Linked DNA regions of Homo sapiens: region 1 is linked to region 2. Evidence: promoter capture Hi-C in 16 types of primary human blood cells and fetal thymus (Javierre and others, 2016). All regions are on one chromosome and are shown on one strand. The core of a region is centred on a gene start or on the middle of the fragment in contact, and the rest is flanking DNA. Distances in the headings are between cores, read along the strand shown.

Region 1 (2,706 bases), core at 173-2,672, 130 kb before region 2:
AAAAATTAGCCGGGTGTGGTGGCAGTCGCCTGTAATCCGAGCTATTTGGGAAGGACGAGAATCGTTTGAACCCGGGAGGCAGAAGCTGCAGTGAGCCGAGATCCCGCCACTGCACTCCAGCCTGGGCAACAGAGTGAGACTTTGTCTCAGAACAAAAAAACAAAAAAAAAAACCCAATAATAATAAAAACAAAATTAGGCCAGGAGCGGTGGCTCACACCTGTAATCCCAGCACTTTGGGAGACCGAGGTGGGTGGATTACCTGAGGTCAGGAGTTTGAGACCAGCCTTGCCAACATAGTGAAACCCCGTCTCCACTAAAGATACAAAAAATTAGCTGAGCATGGTGGCACATGCCTGTAGTCCCAGCTACTCAGGAGGCTGAGGCAGGAGAATCGCTTGAACCTGGGAGGCAGAGGCTGCAGTGAGCCGAGATCGTGCCATTGCACTCCAGCCTGCATGACAGAGCGAGACTCTCTCTCAAAACAAAAAACAAAAACAAAACAAAATAATAAAAATAAGTAAGTAGAAAAGAAAAAGAAAAAAGACCTGAGTCTGGGTTGGGTGAGCGAAATCTCTAGCCGCACTTGGACACTCTGCAGAGGCTTCAAGTTCACCCCATCCAAGTCTCATTCCCTACAAGCTTCCACAGCACAGAGGATGAAATGGGAGCTTCCAGTCACCCACGGCACGCTCTTCCCTTCACCTCCACCTCCGAGCCGTTCTGGAGTCCTGGTGGGTTTGCCTCCACGCACACACAGAGAGTGATCATTCCAGGGGGCACTGCCTCCCCTCAGCTCCCAATGCCCCCTGCCACGGGAGCCTGGGGAGGGGCTTTTACACACTTTGATCATGCCATATCCCTATCCTGGAAACTGGGGCCCCAAAGCCCCCACCTCACTGGGGATGAGGGTGGCGAAGATGACGTAGGACAAACCTTAGCTGGGGTCTGGGGTGCAGATGGCATCCTATACTCCGCCGTATAAACAAGTGCCCCCTCCGGGTTCTGTCACTTATATACTTTGTCCAGTCTCCCTATCCCTTAAAAGGCGTCCCGCCCATCATCTTGTCTAGGACTGTGTGCGCTAAGGGTGAAATGCAAGGTGCTCAGTTTTACTGAAGAAATCTCTCCCTGGGGCGCTGAGTGACAGAAAGGATTTTGAAATTGTCAGTCAACGTACCCCGCCCATTCTGGCTGAGCTGTGCCAACCAGCTCAGCTTTGGATCTTGGCAGAGTGATTGGAAAGCAGGTGAGTTTGTTTGTTTGTTTGGTTTTTGAGATAGAGTCTTGCTCTGTTGCCCAGGCTGGAGTGCAGTGGCGCGATTTCGGCTCACTGCAACCTCCACTTCCCGGGTTCAAGTGATTCTCCTGCCTCAGCCTCCTGAGTATCTGGGACTACAGGCACACACTACCATGCCCGGCTAATTTTCGTATTTTTAATAGAGACGAGGTTTCACCACATTGGTCAGGCTGGTCTCGAACTCCTGACCTCAAGTGATCCACCTGCCTCAGCCTCCCAAAGTGCTGGGATTACAGGTGTGAGCCACCATGCCCGGCCTGTTTTTGTTTTTGTTTTTTTACTCTTTGAGACGGGGTCTTTTGCTCTGTTGCCCAGGCTGGAGTGCAGTGGCTCAATCATGGCTCACTGCAGCCTTGACTTCCCGGGCTCAGGTGATTCTCCCACCTCAGCCTCCTGAGAAGCTGGGACTAGAGGTGTGCACTGCCACGCCTGGCTAATTTTTTTTTTTTTTTAAGAGATGGGATTCACCATGTTGCCCAAGCTAGTCTTGAACTCCTGGGCTTAGGCCATCCTCCCACCTCAGCCTCTCAAAGTATTTGGATTACAGGGGTGAGCCACTGTCCCCGGCCAAGGCGGATCTTGTAAGTCTTGATCTCAACACTCATGTTTTCCGTCTTCCTGTCCAAATCTGTGAACTCCAACTCACAAAGGTGTTTCTCAGCTTGGGACAGTGTAGAAGGCGTCATGGAGGAAGAGAGGCAGAGCTGGGCCTTGGAGGGTGGGAAGGAGTTTAAAAAGGAGACAAGTTGGGGGTTGAGGGAGGCGCTCCAGGAAAGACCAGTAGGGTCACATGTTGGTACTGCAAATATTTCTAAGGTACTGGAGAGGCTGGGACAGGGATAGGAGACCAGGCCAGACTAGGGTAGGGCAGCTGAGGAGCCCAACTTCCTTCTAAGGATGAGGAAAAGCTTCAAAGAGATGAGCAGAACATGGCAGAGGCAGATCTTTTAAATTTTATTACTGTTATTTTTAGAGACAATGTCTTGTTCTGTCACTCAGGCTGGATTGTAGTGGGCTGGTAATAGCCCACTGCAGCCTCCAACTCCTGGGCTCAAGGCATCCTTCCTCCTCAGCCTCCCAAAGGACTGGGATTACAGGCAAGAAGTAATTTTTTTTTTTTTTTTTTTTTTGAGACGGAGTCTTGCTCTGTTGTGCAGGCTGGAATGCAGTGGCACGATCTGGATCTCGGCTAACTGCAACCACCACCTCTTGAGTTCAAGTGATTCTCGTGCCTCGGCCTCCCAAGTAGCTGGGATTACAGGCATGGGCCATGAGGCCCAGCTAATTTTTGTATTTTTAGTAGAGATGGTCTCAAATTTCTGGCCTCAAGTGATCTGCCCGCCTTGGCCCCCCAAAGTGCTAGGATTACAGGTGTGAGCCACCGTGCCCGGCTAGAAGTCAGTTTTT
Region 2 (2,742 bases), core at 58-2,557:
TCCTCCCAGCTAAAGTCCAAATGCCTCTATTAACTCCACCCTACCCCTGCCCTGATCTGCACCCACAACCTGATAAGACAGGTCAACCAGTTGCATAGATAACAGAAGCCAGGTCTCTGGGCAGCCCTCAACCCAGGTGGGCAAATCCAGGCCCAGAGAGGATGGGAGTACTGTCCAGTTGTCCAGGGTCACACTCAAGACTCTGTCCATCACTCTCCAGGCCCCTATTTTCTCATGATCCCCTCAGAACCCAAGATTTCCATCCTGACCCCATCTAACAATGACATTATAGTACTCAGATGAGACCAAGACAAATCTTTGTACACAGTTTATAATCCTTAACCGTAACTATGAGATGAGATCTAGGATCGTGCCCATTACACTGATGAGGGAACTGAGGCTCCCAGAGGAACTTGGCTCACCCAGGATCCCAGGAGATGGAGATGGGTATTCCCACCCAGGGAGCCAGGCTCATGGTTAAGACTCTCTCCACCCCATGGCTTGGGTTGAGCTGGGTTTAGAAGTACGAGGGGCTTGCAGATGCCCACTATCCGGTGGCTGGACCCACAGGGCTAGGATCTAGGGTTAGGAGACAGGGACCAGGAAAGGGAACCAGTAGGGGGAACTGAGTCTAGGGACATGGTTAGCCAGCCCTGAACAAGAGGAAAGTCACAGGCCTGAGACAGGCAATGGAGTAGGGTGTGTGTGTGTGTGTGTGTGTGTGTGTGTGTGTGTGAGCAGGAGTCAGGTACCCGGGGCCTTATCTGGGACAATACTTTTACCCTTGGTGACTTTGGAACCTAGGCAGGGCGCATCCCTGGGAAAACCCCAGAAACCCTCCAAAGCTCTGGCTTGTGGGGACTCATCATTCCTTCTTCCCAGGCCACAAACATCCCAGGAGCGGCCGCATCCCAGCCTCCAGCCCGGCGGGAAGGGGACTTCCGGTTAGAGGGGGGTGTTCTTCTGGCCCACCCCAATCCTGCCGGGTCGGAGCTGAGCTGGGGCGCAGGGCTCGCAGAAGCCAGGTCCGCGGACCGCGCATCCTCCCTCCAGCCCACCTCCAGTCCTCCCCGCCCCCGCCCGCCCCCACTGTCCCCAAGGCCGCCCTGGCCCCTCTCCGCACGCACTGCGAGAGCGCCGAGACGTGGTTGAGCGCGTAGGACACCGGGAGGGCGCTCAGCGACAGCGCCGCGATCTTGCCGGCCAGCGGCGGGATGTCCATAGCGGCGGCTGCTGGACCCCGGCTCAGCCCCGACGCGTTCTCCAGGGCGCTCGGCTCCTCGTTGGCGGCGAGTCCGGGCCGAGGCTGCCAGGGACCCGCCCCGCACAAAGGTCGACCCCGCTGCGCCCTGGGCAGGCCGCCGTGACCGCCCTGCGTGTTCCCAGGGAGCCTCCAAGGCCCCTCCCCGGCCCTCCCCCTGGCAGCTGCCCCGCCCCTTCGCCCCTCACCATCGACACCCTCGTCTCCAATGGCCGTCCCGCTACTCAGCCTCAGTTTCCCTCACTGTCAAAGGCTGGGACACAACACCTCGGGATGCTTCTGCTCTTAGGCCAAGGGGTGCGCCCTGGAGGTCCTGGCGTGCCCCCTCTTTCCCCTGCCTCCACAACTTCGTTCTAAGGAAATTTTCTCCTGGACTCTGCGCTTCTAAACCTCTGCATTCCCCAGAGTTTCCCATCCCCACCCAAAGATCAAGTCGGCATTCCCTGTGCGCACGGATGGAGCAACCTCCAGCTCTTGGGTGCAAAATGCCTTTCAGTGGGCTTAGATTTGAGTTTTCATAAGGTGGCCACAAATGTAAACGTGTTTCCAGGCAGGTGTGAAGTTTTTTTGTTTGTTTTTTGAGAGGTCTCACTCTGTGGCCCAGACTGGAGTGCAGTGGCCCTCCTCCTTGAACTCCCAGCCTCAAGAGATCCTCCTACCTCAGCCTCCCAAGTAGTTGGGACTACAGGTATGCACCACCACGCGCAGCTAGTTATTTTTTGTAAAGACAGAGGTCTCACTTTTTTGCCCAGACTGGTTTCAAACTCCTGGGCTCAACAGATCCTCCCACATCAGCCTCCCGAGGAGCTGGGATTACAGGCGTGAGCCACTGCGAGGGGTCTTTAAGTGTGAGGCTTTGACTCCGGGGCTGTCCCTTTGCAGGCTAGTCCCGGGTTTAGGGTTCTTCATTTCGGGGAGAGGGTAGAAGGGGTCCTAGCGGGTGGGGGCTGAAGTTAGAATATCGGGATGGAGCCAGTTTGGTGAAGAGTTTGGGAACGGTGTTCCTGGCAGGGAGGAAAGTGGCTCAGGCTTGGAACTGAGCAGTGGAAAGGAGGTCGGTTCTGCTGGGGTGTGATGAGAAGCGAGACAGCTGTGAGAGGCTGTGGGAGGTTTTGAACAGCTGGGAGGGGGCCACAGTATTGGGGGGGAGAATAAGGAGACCATCTGTCTTTGTCACCCCCTCCAACCAGACTCTGGCCCATGTGGAGTACTTGTGGATGCTGCAGACAGCAAGGTGAACCATGCCCACCTGACGCCTGCCCTGCGGGACCCCAGTCTGCAGCTGGCACAAATTCTAACCACTGCCCCTACCTCAGGCCCCATTCTGCACGCAGCCCCTTAGCTTGATGCCAACTGGGTCACAGGTCTTCCTGAACTGGGCCACAAGAGGGTCTTCTGGCCGCAGGTCTGACTCAGCCTCCTTCCCCAGGTGTCCACTGCCCATGGGTGAAGTTCAGGTTCCCCTGGACTTTCCCCAACTC

Evidence for each region. The method cuts DNA at HindIII sites, captures the fragments that hold promoters and counts their contacts. A CHiCAGO score of 5 or more calls a contact.
Region 1: a contact is called between a fragment that was not itself captured here and the fragment with the promoter of TM6SF2 in region 2, in 1 of 17 cell types (M1 macrophages). The highest score is 6.1, in M1 macrophages.

What each region holds. Positions count from the first base shown.
Region 1 is chr19:19,141,402-19,144,107 of GRCh38, forward strand. No RefSeq gene overlaps it. Among named protein-coding and RNA genes, the nearest start is that of TMEM161A, 4.3 kb to the left of the region's middle. The HindIII fragment of the contact is 1,566 bases long and covers 640-2,205 here.
Region 2 is chr19:19,271,994-19,274,735 of GRCh38, forward strand. It overlaps TM6SF2 (transmembrane 6 superfamily member 2), which reads right to left and starts at 1,308. Exons shown (of 10, transcript NM_001001524.3): 1 at 1,128-1,308. The coding sequence starts at 1,222. The HindIII fragment of the contact is 7,826 bases long and covers 1-2,742 here.